Regions from separate parts of the Homo sapiens genome. Here region 2 is linked to region 1. The links are contacts of gene promoters, found by promoter capture Hi-C in human tissues and cell types (Jung and others, 2019). All regions are on one chromosome and are shown on one strand. Each heading gives the region's core, a stretch centred on a gene start or on the middle of the fragment in contact. The rest is flanking DNA. Distances are from core to core; before and after follow the strand shown. Region 1 holds the start of ADCY2 (adenylate cyclase 2). Region 2 overlaps LINC02236 (long intergenic non-protein coding RNA 2236).

Evidence for each region. Contacts are between HindIII fragments. The study calls those that stand out against the background at their distance.
Region 2: a fragment that was not itself captured here is called in contact with the fragment with the promoter of ADCY2 in region 1 in 2 of the 25 tissues and cell types used here (dorsolateral prefrontal cortex and hippocampus).

The regions. Positions count from the first base shown.
Region 1 is chr5:7,393,291-7,400,480 of GRCh38, forward strand. ADCY2 (adenylate cyclase 2) reads left to right here and starts at 2,848. Exons shown (of 25, transcript NM_020546.3): 1 at 2,848-3,216. The coding sequence starts at 3,007. It overlaps LOC107986403 (a long non-coding RNA gene), which reads right to left and starts at 2,659. Exons shown (of 2, transcript XR_001742597.2): 1 at 786-2,659; 2 at 1-684. RefSeq lists enhancers at 1,398-2,163, 2,164-2,929. The HindIII fragment of the contact is 8,449 bases long and covers 1-7,190 here.
Region 2 is chr5:6,798,887-6,806,258 of GRCh38, forward strand. The region is part of intron 1 of LINC02236 (long intergenic non-protein coding RNA 2236); the gene reads left to right. Among named protein-coding and RNA genes, the nearest start is that of LINC02236, 6.7 kb to the left of the region's middle. RefSeq lists an enhancer at 4,881-5,381. The HindIII fragment of the contact is 3,558 bases long and covers 163-3,720 here.

The DNA.
Region 1 (7,190 bases), core at 1,598-4,097:
GTAAATTGGAAACTATTACAAGGGTCCCAGGATCCCTGTCTTTCCCACGCCTTCACCCTGCCCCCTTCATCCAGCACATGGTAGGCACATAATGTTAGTTTAATAAACTAATGGAAGGATGAGTGAATTAAAAAAAATTCAAAAAGATCAAGGGCAAAATAATCTCCATGTCATTACATTGTAACAAAATTTCTTAAAAGTCTTAAGACTGCCTTTACCATACAGAGAACATATATATGGTATACATACTGGATATTTAAAAGATTCCACTTCCCCACTAGGAAGAAGGAGACAGTAATTAAGCATTTCCTTTTCCTCATAAGTTTTTCAGCTCTTTTCGCATAAACCTAAATGACGGATTATTTATTTTTTCTCCCTTCTTGAGTGGGTGAAGACAAACATGTATCAATACAAGGGGTAAAGAAGCAGCAAAGATTGAAGAGAAGATGAATAATTAGTCTGTTGCTAGCACAGGAAAGGACTGGAAATGTGCAACTCTGCCCGCCCCAGAAAGACCAAGCACACAGCCGGAGGAAGACAGAACCAACACAATAGAAACCGTGTCCAGCTTCCCACTCAACCGTGTTTCCTTGGAAGGGATTGGGTTCTGGATATTTATACCGCGGATTCATCAGTGTTGTCTGTCATGGAAGCTTGCTCTCAGAACCTTCAAAAACCTAAAATCTGGGAGTATAGTAATCACATCCTGAGGTTCATAGCAAAGCACCGAGCCCAAAGCATCCAGCCCAGTGAGGTTTGGTGGGAGGGTCTGAGGTTGAAATTACCTGGGTTACAGTCACAGGAGGGTGTTGGAGTGGAGGGCAGGCAGGACAGGGTGGGGGCAGCAGTCCATAAACACTGCAGGGAAGAGAATTTCTTTCTGCTGCTAGGGCAGGATGACCCACGGTGGGAGGTGAGCCTTGGGACCTACAGGAGGCTTCAGGGGGACACCCCCCCACCCATTGCCTCCTCCTCCACTCCTTGTTTCCAGGTCCTCAGAAGGAGGGAAGTCCAGGGACCAGGGAGCCTGGTGGGGCCGGACCTGAGGTACTGCACGCAGCCCTGGGCCCAGTCTCCTCGGCCACCTCCCTGCCTCTGGTGTCTATGAGATCTGCGGGTGAGCTGTGCAGCTCCTGAGCCCTCATCCTTAGGCCCTGTGGGCACTGACGGATGCTAAAATGAAAACCTCTGGAAGGATCCGTGCCCGGCCTGGCCCTGTGCTCAGGGTAACGCAGCTACCTAGCTTACATGCCCTCTGCCAGCGAGGAGGACAGGACAGCCAGGGAGGCGGGGCATGGGGCCATTCGAGAAGGTTCTGAGGTCTTAGGTGGTGACAAGGCTGAGTCCTGAGAGCTGGTCATCTCCTGGAAGAGATGAAAAGTGCATGGAACAGCCCTCTGGGGCTGCCCTCTGGGATGCTCGCTGGTGGCAGGAGAAGGGAGGGCTCTTGTGCCTTGGATTCCTTGGGGTAAGGCTTTGGGGGAGGAGGTGGGATTTGGGGGCTCTTTGGGCCGGACCACACTCGAATAGGAGGAAACTTCCAGAAGGGTGGGTTCCTTTGGTGATAAGCAATGAAGCCCCTTCGGCCCCCAGGGCGAAGGCCAGCGGCCTCCGCTCCCACGCGTGTCGGGAGGGGACACTGTCCCTGGTGACATCCGCCCCCACAACGCTCCTGCCGGGTCTCTAGCGCCTCCTGCGTCCAGGCCCCCAAGGTGACAGGGAGGGAGCTACTCCCAGGGCCGACCCGCCCGCTCCCGCGCCCAGCCGCTCTCCCCGGCGCCCCTTTGCCGCCATCCCCGCTCAGCAGAGGGGCTCGGCGAGGACCACGACCAGCCACGGGGCAGCTCTGTAAACCTGTGATATGACAGGCTTATACGGCACCTCCAAAGTGTGACTGAAGCTGAGCGTGCAGGGCGCAACGGACGCTGCCCCCGCGAGGCCGTGGCGGGGGCTCCCAGTGCAGTCACTGCCGCTTCACTTCCACATGGTGCCGGTCTCCAGTTAGGTCCCCTGGCGTTTCCGCGCCCTGCCGCCCTCGCAGGGAGCCCCGGCCCTCTCAAGAGGGTGGAGAGGATGGGGGAGCCCTCAACCCTGCTACGCTGAGGGGAAGAAGGGCTGGACGGCAAACCGGTGCCCACCGCGGGGAGGCGGGAAGGGTGGGAAATCCTCTCCAGCTCCCCAAAAGAGTGAAAAGGAGGGAGACCCCGCTGTCCTCTGACCCGCGTACTAAAGGAGGGACCCCCCGGGTCCTCTGACCCCGGCTGCGCTCTGTGACTGTGGGGGAGGGTGGGAGCAGGCCCCGCAGCCCACTAAGGGGTGGAGGAAACAGGAGGGTGGCAGCGTCCCTGCCCGCTGACCTTGAGGTAGTGGAGAGGAGCTGAGGAGCCCCGCAGTGCTCCGAGCCAGGTGGGGCGGGGGGAGTGGTGGGGGTAGGACTCCCTCCCTCCACCCCTTAGGCTGTGTTCTCACTTCGTAGCGGGGAGGGCCGTCCCTCCCACCCCACCCACGCTGCACTCGGGATAGGGCAGAGGAGGTGGACGACCTGGTGGCTGAGTGTGGGAGGCCGGCGGGCGAGGACGACCCCGGGCCGGGGCGCAGCGGGAGCCCCTCAGTTCGCCACTCCCCCCACCGTACAGCCCCCGCCGTCCCCAGCCTGCAGCCGGGCCGTCGGGTGGGGGCCGACACCGCCCCTGCACGGAGGCCGGCTGCGCGCGGGGCGGGGAGCGGCGGGCGGAGGGCCCCGTGGAACCCGCCCCCTCCCGCGCGGTGGCGGTGGCGGCGGCGGCGCCGGGAGCTGCCCCCGAGGCCGCCGCCCGGCCCCCGCCCGCGCGTCAGCGCGCCCAGCCCGGGGCGCCGAGCTCCGCCCGCGCCGGAGGCCCCTGCGCGCAGCTCCGGGTGCCGGCAGCCGGGCCGGCCGAGGCGGCGCGGGGGTGGGACGCGGGCGGCCGCGGCGAGCGGCGCTGCCCGGGCCGGGCGCGCACGGCGGGCGCCCTGTGAGCGGCCCCGATGTGGCAGGAGGCGATGCGGCGCCGCCGCTACCTGCGGGACCGCTCCGAGGAGGCGGCGGGCGGCGGAGACGGGCTGCCGCGGTCCCGGGACTGGCTCTACGAGTCCTACTACTGCATGAGCCAGCAGCACCCGCTCATCGTCTTCCTGCTGCTCATCGTCATGGGCTCCTGCCTCGCCCTGCTCGCCGTCTTCTTCGCGCTCGGGCTGGTGAGTGGCCTCCCCGCGGGTCCAGCGCCGCGCCTTCCCCGGCCCTGAGAGGAGCCCGGCCAGCCGAGCCGCGTCCCGCTCCGGGCTGCCCCTCGGCCCGCGGCAGCCCCTCGGCCCGCGGCAGCCCCTCGGCCCGCGGCTCCCTGCTTCTCCTGCTGGCCCGCGGCCCGGTGGACTCTGGCAAGGGCTGCGGGCGGGAGAAAAGTTTCCTGGGAAGGCTCTTCCCAAAATAAAGTTCCCGAGGTGTTCACCAGGTGGACGGGCAGGGCGTGTGCTTTTTGCATCTTTGCGCACCCGCTGGCAAACTCTGCGCTTTCCGCCGGGCACCGCTGCCCGCAGCGCTGGAATAGGTCTTCCCCGACTCAGCCCTGGGCTTCCTGGGCGAGTCGCTGTCTCCTGCCCGGTTCCACTGGCATGGCCCCACAGTTGGCATTTTAGTTGGGATTGGGCGTTATTCAACTCTGCAGAAAGCCTGCCTTGGGAAAGTGGTTAATGACAAGGAAAATGAAGAAGAAAAATTAAGTATACATCTTTGCCTTTAAATCTGTATGCATTTAGCTCTTTAGCCCGATAGACGGAAAGTGATGTGGTGTTGACTTGTGAATCAATCTTTCATCTCAGAGACTACAGTTAAGAAGCGTTTGGGACGGACGATTGCTTTCCCGTTTCTAAAGAAGTAACGTGTTTAGGGTTTTGGACAGGTTATTAAAGTGGATTTCATCACGAGGAGTATAATGCAGCTCAACAGCTGATGTCAGTTTTGCCAGTTTATATTTTTCAAGCAGAAATCCTTGGCTCGCTCCCTTGAAAAGTGAGGGGAAGTCTGTAGATGGCGATAACTTCCTGTTACTGATCTCTGAGTGTGTGGTTCAAACTTTTGCACTGCCTGTGACATGCATGTGCAGATTTTGTGCGAGGCATTGATTATCCACCAGTGAGTTTTTTTTTTTTTTTTTTTTTTTTTTTTAGTCAGTGGTTGATCTGTGAATGTGTCCACTGGGTGATGTATTTTGAGCTTAGAATATAAATATGTGCCTATATTTATATGTGTCCACCACCAAAGAAGTGGATTTTGCTTATATTTCACCATGCATAAAATAGCTGTCCTTGGTATTTGGCAATTTGTTTAGGATGTCCGGAGCCAGATGGTGTTCAAATGTTATGCATGGGAAGAATTGTTACCATCATGTTTTTAAAAAATAAAAAAATTCCCCCACACCACTCAATGGTAGCTGTCTACTGATTGAGTTCAATGAGGTAAGAATAGAAATAGAATGTAGGAGGCCATGAAGTCACAGATCACACACTGGCTCTTGTACTATCAAACCTAGAGCAGAGAGTAACTTTTGATCCCTGTAGTCTAGATAGGAGTCCGGAGAAACCCTCACTCTCTCCACATGTAACCAGCCTTCTATGCTCTCTGGAATGGCATTTTTATCTCTCTTTACTACTTTTAGGAACAAAAAGGACTTGGGGAGAGACTTCTGCTCAGTCTCATGGGCAAGCAGGATCTCTAAAGTCATCTACTTATTATTTTTTACTTGCCAGGAAGAAAAGAAACATCAGAGTTTTCCTTTGGAAATCTGTTCTGCTGGGGCATTTCAGCTTGTGATTCTCTTGAACCTGTAATTCAAACCTGCTCTGGCTTGTTCTCTTCTAAATGGAAAGGAGCAGGTGATGACCTATTTATAGCAGCATTAATATATTTAAAGACAAGTGTGAAATTCATGCTTCCTCTGCACACACCACTTTGTTTTCTGTGATGGAGAATTCTAATTTCTTAAACCTCATTGATAGAGATTCTTGAATGGGTCACTCAGAGATTTAGCATTATTGGGCTTAAAGCACCCTTCTTTGAATTGTCTTTGTTCTTTGTATTTGTGTGTCTATATTCAATTCCTTTATGTTCCATTTTGCTTGGTGCATATGTGTTAGTGGTACCCTTTTCAAAGCGTTTTCCACGCATCTTTACTTTTCCTTGATAAATCAATCATTTTAATGCTCCTCTTGCCTTCAGCTAAATCATTTTAAGCACAAAGTGGGCATTTCCCACAGCATGGCTGTCACCTATGGTGAGGTCCAGAGACAGTGAAATGAATCCTGTCCTTGGCCATACCTAATTCATGGTCTCATGTCTACTATGTGCACCCTTCAAAGAGATAAGCTGTGCAGAAATGTTCCAGAATCAGGGAGGGTTACTCAGTCTGATAGAAAAGCCACCTTCAGGCAGAGACCAGCTGCAGGACCAAGTCGGAAGGAGCTATGCCTAGGAGAAATGTGCCCTGTGTTCTGAAACCGGACCTGAGTCGGGACTGGGATGATGTTGGGCTCCCAACAGCCTGTTTCTATTTTGATTTTAGAAACACCATAACCAGCATCTCTGCTTTCCAAAACACGTTCTCCATCCAGATAGTCAGCGATGGCTGGGGTAGGAACATTTGAAGGTAGAATAGGGCTAAGGTAAAGCTGTGTTCATGTAATTAGAGATGAGTTCATTTCTTGGGCTGGCAGGGCTTCGCTTCAGAGAGGTCTACCTTGGGAGGTGGGAATGGCTGCTTTGGGACCCTGCCAAGGTTTCCATGCTGGAGCACTTTACTTGAATAGCTGGGCTGTCATGCAATTCAGGAGCTAAGCAGATCTATTTTTGCTGCCTAAAATCTTGGACAGATTCCTTTTTTTCCCCCTGAATCTGCCTGATTTTGATTTCCATTAGACTTTCATCAGTTCTTATAGAAGTTTGGCAATCTGCTTAAAGCACATCCCTAGCCTCCTAGAGCATTTGGACTACAAAATGCTCTTAGCATAATGCAAGTACATAGAGATTTTTTTGCTGTATGTAATTGCCTTTGTAGAAGTGATTTGGAATACATACTAAAAAGAAAAAAGCAAGCTTCATTTTGATTTAATATTTCCCTAATTGATATTGTTCACAAAGTGATTTCATTTAATTTCAACCTTTGATCAATCCTTGATTCTGCATTGTTGGCCCTAAAGTTAAAGTAATCCTCAAAGTTTTATATGCTGTAAAAGTAAATTCTGAATTGAAACTTCACAGTCTTGGTTAATTTATTATTTTCTACATGAAAACTATTAAGTAGTTTTAATCCCATATTTGTGAAGAATTATTTGAAGACAGGAAACTCAGTAAATATAAAATTTGATGGCATGTCTTGAATTTAAATATTCTGTTTAATAATATGAGTAATAGTTTCTGCTGTTTATCATGGAGAGTATTCATGAAAAATCTGATTTATAATTTTTTCACCATCAGCTTGTTGAGTGCCTACCAAGTGCCAGGAATGGCAATAATGCTGGGCATGGGGAACAAAATAAAATTGACCCCTGGCATCAGAAAACTTAGAGCTAATGAAATGAAATTTTAAGTCATAAATCTTATCATGTCACTTGGTTTTTAATTTTTTTCTTTTTCTTTTTCTCATTTTTTTCTCTTTCTACTTTGTTTTTTGGAACTGGTTTTTATTACTGAATGCATGAAAACCCTTTTTCAGAATTTAATACTCTCATTTATTATATCCAAAATCAGCCAGCTGTTTTCAAAATTTGCCTGTCAGTGTTAAGAAAGGTTGACATAATTTTTTTTTATTTTGTCAGGATACCAGCTGGCTCCAGCCAGATTTGTTTTGGCTAAAACTTATGATTAGGAATAGTCAATATTTCAATATAAATGAAAAAATTTTATTCCATAATTTTAAGTAGTCAGAGAAATAAAGTAGATTTTTTTTAGTATGATACTGAAATAAGAGTATGCACTTTTATTAACTATAAATAGGTAATATATGTGACTGAGAATATGGCCCACCTTGTTTCTTTTATGGTGATGTAATGAGCTAGATATTTAAAACAATAACCAGAGGTATTTTTATGATGAATCAATGTTCCAGCATCAGATATTTTTTCGAAGGGCAGATTTATCAGAGAGGTTCTTTTGTGTGTACATAGAGAAAGAATCTTAT
Region 2 (7,372 bases), core at 692-3,191, 600 kb before region 1:
GAGTAAATTTGTTCATAATATTCTTCTATCTTGTTAATGTTTGTAGGATCTGTAGTTATAGTTCATTTTTTCTTTCTTATTAGGTAGTTAGTGTTTTATTCTTGTTCAATTTTCCTAAAGATTTATCATTTCAAAGCATAACTTTTGACCTTGTTGATTTTTAAAGATTTTTAAAAAAATTTACTGAAATTCTGCTCTGTTCTTTGTTTGTAATTTTCTTCCTTTTGCTTTAATAAAGCATATAAGGTTACAAATTTCCCATCTTCTGTTTCCATGATTTCCCCTCCTACTCCCCATCCCCTTCCTTCTCCTTTTTTTGATGGAGTCTTGCTCTTTCGCCCAGGCTGGAATGCACTGATGCGATCACGGTTCACTGCAGCCTCCGCCTCCAAGGTTCAAGCAACTCTTCTGCCTCAGCCTCCTGAGTAGCTGGGATTACAGGCATCTGCCACCATGCCCGGCTAATTTTTGTATTTTTAGTAGAGACGGGGTTTTGGTGTTTCACTATGTTGGCCAGGCTGGTCTTGAACTCCTGACCTCAAGTGATCTGCCCGTCTTGCCCTCCCAAAGTGCTGGGATTACAGGCATGAGCCACCATGCCTGGCTTGTTATCTGCTTCTAAGATTTCTTTTGAGAAGTCAGCTATTAATTTTTTTCTTTTTTTTCTCATTCCAAAGAAATGTGTTGTTTGTTTGGCTGATTTTAATATTTTCTTCTTGTCCTTGATTTTTAGAAAGCTGACATCGATGATGTATCTAGGTGTGATTTTCTTTATATTTATCTTGCTTGAAGTTTGCTGAATTTCTTGAATGTGTGGGTTGATGTCTTTCATCAGTTTGGAATGTTTTTAGTCATTATCTCTTTGAATATTGCTTCTCATTCTCTCTCCTCCCTGGTAATGCAATTATATATTGTTTAGACATTTTGAATATATCCCTTATTTCTCTTAATTTCTTAAAATCATTTTTTTCTTTTTAGTTTCTTTCCTTCAGTTTGGGTATTTTTCTATTGCATTGCTTTCCAGTTCACCAGTTTTATGTCCAATCTACTGTTAAAACTATTCATTGCATTCTTAATTTTGGATATTATGATTTTAGTTCTATAGTTTATTTAAAAAATAATTCTAATTCTTAATTGCAAATTGCCATTATTCTATTTATATTGCCTCTCATTTCCTCTATTTTCTTGAATATATTAATCATAATTATTTTAAAATAATTGTCTATTGTATCTAGAATTTGGGTCACTTGTGAACCTAATTCTGTTGTTTGCTTTTAAAAACATTAAAGCACATTGAGCCTATGGTCTTATCTTTTCACAGATCTAATAATTTCTTGTAAGCTGAATATTTTGTATAAAAGACTGTAGAGGTTCCAATGATGTTCTTTTCCACATGAAAGTGTTTTGTGTCTCCTCTCTAAGGCAGAGGAGGTTGATTCCCAAGGGCCAACCATTAGGGATTGGTGTAGTTTTGATCAGACTCAACCTACCTCTGTTCTCAGGGCTTTATCTGAGAGCTTGGAAAGTCTTTGCATCCTGAGTTCTGAATGATTGTGGGTGATTCAGCTTGGCCTTAGAGAAATTTAAGCTCAGCACTCACACTCCTGACCTCGTCACCTTCAGAATTTGGCAAAGGTCTTGATGGAGAGAATGCTTGGGTTGGATGCCCTACCCGCTAATTTTGTCCTTGACAAACACTAAAGTCTTTGCTTTGTTTTCTGTCTCCAGCAGCAGCAGCCTCTTGCCAGGGGCTGAGCCTTGATACCCACATTTGTCTGGTGCCCCCAAAAGAGTGGCTGCAGATCCTGGTGTCAATTCACAGGCTTTCATCTTGTGCTGGATTTCTTTTCAGGTTCCTTCCCTGGGAAGTTTTTTGTTTCCTAGTCACAAATATTGACAGAAATTTTACTTTGCCTTTCAGGAACTTTTAGCCTAGCTCTTTAGGCCTCCACTCCCCTGACTACTCAGCTAAAAAAAAAAAAAAAATCAAATGTCTTGTGGGTAAAATCAGCTATGCATTGCAGGGCCCTCACCTGAGATATGATTTGTCACCCTAGCCCTATGGCACCACTGAAAGCTTTTCTGGTTTTCCTTCCTCTAGCGGCGTCTTCTACCTGACCTAAATCTGATCACTGGGCTTCTATTTAACAGTACAGGAAGATGTTTCCAGGGAAAAACAGATGCCAACCATCATCTCCCTCTTACTGGCTTTTCTCTCTGAAAGTTTAGTTTATTTATTCTTTGTTGATTCCACATCTCTCCAATGCTTCGAAAATGATTTTTTATTCTTTTGTTTCTTAGTTCCTGAGATCAGGGGCATTGGCTGTTACCTACTACTTAGAAGTGGAAGTTTGGGGCACATGTTTTGACTTTCTTTTTCATAGTTTGTTGACTTGATTTGACATCAGTACACTCTGTACCCTATGGCAGGGAACCCCAAACCCCAGGCCAAGGACCAGTCTGGTATGGTCAGTGGTCTGTTAGGACCTGGGCCACACAGCAGGAGGTGAGAGGCAGGTGAGTAAGCGAAGCTTCGTCTGTCTTTATGGCCACTCCCCATTGGTCACATTCCCGCCTGAGCTCCTCCTGTCTGATCAGCAGCAGCATTGGATTCTCACAGGAGCTCGAACCCTATTGTGAACTGTGCATGCCGGGGATCTAGGCTGTGGACTCCTTATGAAAATCTAATGCCTGATGATCTGTCACTGCCTCCTATCACCCCCAGATGGGACCATCTAGTTGCAGAAAAACAAGCTCAGGGTTCCCACTGAATTCTACATTATGGTGAGTTGTCTAATTATTTCATTATATATTAAATGTAATAATAATATAAATAAAGTGCACAATAAATGTAATGTACTTGAATCATCCCGAAACCATCACCCCTGACCACAGTCCATGGAAAATTATCTTCCACGAAACTGGTCCCTGGTGCCAAAAAGGCTGGTGACTGCTGCCCTATGGAATCACTCGGGATTTAAAACTTTTACTTGTAAATGTTAAACGTTTTGCATCAGAGGCATCTTCAGTGGCCACAGGCTGGAACGTTTCCTCCTTAAGCTGAGTAGTCCTTAAAACAATGGAACCTGTGTAACTAACTTCATTGCAATTATAATGGAATTCTCAAACTTTGGGACACTTATAGCACAAATTTGGGGCATGATTTCTTAAAGATTCTCCATGCCATTGTAAAGTAATGGTGTGGCTAAAGTATCCCATCAGGGTCATGTCCTCATGTCCTTTGATTACTACAACTCCTGGCATTTAGGAGTTTTTTTTTTTCTTTTTTTTTTTTTAAGGCATGAAGGTGAAGGAGGGCTTCAACTGGGAGTTTTGAGCTTTTGGTGTGTGTAACTTACTAAGATTGGTGAGGGATTAAGTATTAGGCTAGGGAAGGAAGAGAGGGAGTCAGATGCAAGTCTTCCCAAGCTTTCTATGTTGATCCAATCAGTTTTCTTTTCCTTTAAGTTTTTTTCTCTCTTCAGGTGGATCATTGAGGCACCAGCATATGCCACTTTTGATTCTGGGTTCCACTGATAGACTGGATAAAGAAAATGTGGTACATATACACCATGGAATACTATGCAACCATAAAAAAGAATGAGATCATGTCCTTTGTAAGGACATGGTTGGAGCTGGAGGCCATTATCCTTAGCAAACTAACGCAGGAACAGAAAACCAAATACTGCATCTTCTCACTTATAAGTGGGAGCTAAATGATGAGAACACATGGACACATGGCAGGAACAACACACACTGGGGTCTAGCAGAGGAGGGCAGAGGGTGGGAGGAGGGAGAGGATCAGGACAAATAACTAATGGGAACTAGGCTTAATACCTAGGTAAGGAAATAATCTGTACAACAAACCCCCATGACATAAGTTTACCTACGTAACAAACCTGCACTTGTACCCCTGAACTTAACAGTTAAAAAAATTTAAAAAGGGTTTTTCTGTTTCAATTATACGTCAAGAAGAGCTGCTCTCATTACCTGTGTCACAGGCAAATGAAAGCTTTGTTTGATTACTTAAGTAATCCAGGAGAACATGTAACTCATCATTTTCAGGAAGGTGGTCAGTGAAGAGAAGAGGAAGAGAGTAGAAGCTTCTTTTAGGATGGAGGAGAAGAAGACAGTTGGAGTGGGACAAGTCCCATTTGATGGTGTGTGGTCGCTACAGCAGGTACAGTGAAGTGGCTCCTGTTTTGGAAATGAGGGAAGCTCCGATTCCCCTGAGAGAGTAGAAAAAGGTCAGGATGGGTGCTAATGGGATGCACTAGGTGGAGGGCAGCTGGGAAGCTACCTCTGTGCTTGCACAGTCTCCTCAGATGGGAATTATTTCTCTACTTCTGTCATATTTGTCTTGGTGTAACTGAACCCGCATCTTAAAATTCCCTGATTACCTCAGTTGGAAGTGAGTTCTCCTACATTTGCGCTCCTGAAACACGTGAGAATATTAGTTGTTCTGAATGAGCTGTTACTGTACTCACGGGTGGTACAGTTTAGAGAGGGTGACGTGTTTGTTATGAGTATGGGCTCTGGACCTAGCCTCCCTAGGCCCAAATCTCCGTTATCTGCTTTCACTCACTGGACCTAGGGCAAGTTAACTTTTCTCATCTGCAAAATGGACTAGATCTTGAAAGCAATGTCAGTGCATTTTGTGAGGATAAAACAAGTCACTGCATTTATTTGATTAATGTGTACAAAGCACTTTGAGTACACTGAGTACTCACTAATGCTAGCTGCTACATTTCCTACTAGTGTAATTGAACGAATACACACACTTAGAGTATATTACACTTTAAATAAACGTTATCGTATGTACTTGATTGTCACTATTTGGTGATAGAGACCCTGTCTTCCTTGCAGTGAAGGGCACCATAGTGGCTAAACTTAGAGTTACTTTAGAAAAACCAGGTGTTAGGGTGCCCCCAAGAGCATTGCCAGTGTGAGGGAACAGTATCAAAGAGGACTTCACAGATGACAGTTAAGGTTTCAGGTCCACATAGGTCTTAACTATAAATTGTGACAGCGTAAGGGCTGAAGGTCTGAGAGTGTGTGTGCTCACTAAGAGGCTAGGGGTTTCAAGTTTCCTGAAATAACTGCAAGAACTGCGCAACACAGAGAGAACCTACAGGGAAAGAAAGGAAGGGGCCGGGAGCTTGGACTCACAGTAAGGTCCTGGGATGGGGATTGAAAACCAAAAGCAACTGTGATGACACTCTGCTGCAGCTGGTGGGCAAAGCTGGGAAGAGCCGGAACCCTGGCTTCCTGTTCCACCTCCATAGGACCCATCCCTGCTGCTCCATGCCCTCTCTGAGGATCCACCAGTGCAAATGGTCATCTCAGCCTCCTAAGAGTCAGCCCTCTTGTGAATCCTCCTGCAGATACAAACAAGGCTGGGATGTTGCTTGCCCTTCAGTTGGGGGTTGTCTCAGGCAGAGGCCCTAAGGGATGGTGGTGACACCAGGCCAGACGGGAGAGCCTGGCTGTTTGCCTGAGAGTTCCAGCTTTGCCCCCAACAGCCATGAGACAGCTGTTCTCATGCCAAGAAAATGAATTTATACAGTGAAGTAAATCAAATTGTAAAGAACAATGTGATTAGAGAAAAAAAATCGTTTGTTATCTTGCAGTCCCCGGACATGATATATTCGTGGCCCAGGACCTTTTAAACAAAGAAATAATAAGAAACCATTTAGAAAAACAAATAAACTGGCAAATGTTTGTGAAATATTTATAAGATGCAGAGCCATTTTACATGCAAGAATTTATTAGCTAATTTTTTTTGTCTTGTGAAGGACTATTTTTGGAGACAATGAAATTGTTCTGGAAAAATACTTAAATTGGTAAGGATTAAAAACACACAAGAAAGCCAAGACTTTAATTACTATTATGATTTAGTTATATTTTTTGGGGAAAAATTATGCAAATCTATTTGTACTTTTAATCTTTTGTCAACATTTTCCCTATATTCATAAGTTATCCAACTTATCAAACAGAAAAAAGTCAGATGTATGAGGGGAAGAGATCTGGCTCAGCTAAAATTACTTGGTCTCTAACTCTGTGATGATGTGAGACCTTAGGAATCTCAGACTTGCTGTATTAGTGAGTAAGTAAAAATCCTGGGTTTTAGAACATTTAAAGGAAATGGTGTTTATTCTCCCTTATTCGTCTCACTTGGCAGTGGAATTATTGCAATTTCAGGGCAATGTACTTGAACAGTGATGTTGGCAAAAGGGAGTAAGAGTAGACAGGATAGTGAATGATTAGAAACCATTTTGCAGAGGGAGCAGTTGAAGGAATGGGGTTCTTTACACAGAGAGCAGAATACTGAGTGGGAAGCCATAGGCCAGCCCTCCAATGTATGATGGTTTCAATGTCCTCCTTCTTTCTCTGTCCTCTTCCCAGGAGGGGCGCTTGACCAGATGGGTGAGAGAGTGCAGAGCTTTGTGCATAGCAGTGCAGACAAGTCGTGCAATAGGGTGTGGTCAAAACGACCAAGAAACAGGATTGCGTGTCATGTGGGTGCTTCAGCTTGAGGAATCTGGAAATCCTAAAACATCCTTCAATTTTCCAGAGGACTTGAGATGTCTGTCCTTTTTGAGATGGACAGGTTCCCCTGAGAGCTGTCTCACGGTGGTCTACAAAGGGGGCACAGCAAGATGGACTTGGGAGTTTCTGTAGCTCTGCCGGCCAAACTCCAGCCAGGGGGAAGCCCATGGAAACTTGCTGGCAGTCCCAGCCTCTTAGAGTGATCCCCTGGGAGCCTCCCAGACTTTTTAAAGGGCGAGTTTGAGGAGAAGAAAGACATGTCGCTCCAAATTAGGCCACCAGTTTCTCTGCTAGTTCACTGCAACACTTTGTACATTTCCAGGTCATCTCTTACATACGCTGGAGATGTGTGATGGAGCTTGATGCTAATTAGCAGGCTAGATCTGTGATGTTTTTATTAAGTTGGGTCACAAAGTGTTCAATGCCTCTCTCTCTAGAATGATGATGCACTCATCAACCTGTCCTAAGTTCTGCGGCTTTAGCCAAAATTCTTAAAGAATAGGAAAAGTCCCACTTCACACCGTGTTCCATCAGGCTTTAACTGGTCACTGTACTGCTTGGTACAACACTCTGTTCATTTGTGTGAGTAAATAGAAGTAAGAGTCATTGAACTCAAGGAGATATAGCACTCTATTGAGGCTTGAGTCTTAGCAGGTGGTACCTTGGCAGAGAAGTGATTTCATTCTTAGAACTTTTAAAGGAAGTTTCTGGGAGAGTCACCTCTTGGGTGGAGGTTGGGTTTGATCTCAAGGACTTTGTGTTTGAGTTTATAGGACTCTGCCTAAGCAAACATAGAGCTGTCTAGCCTAAGTGGTGTTCTTTG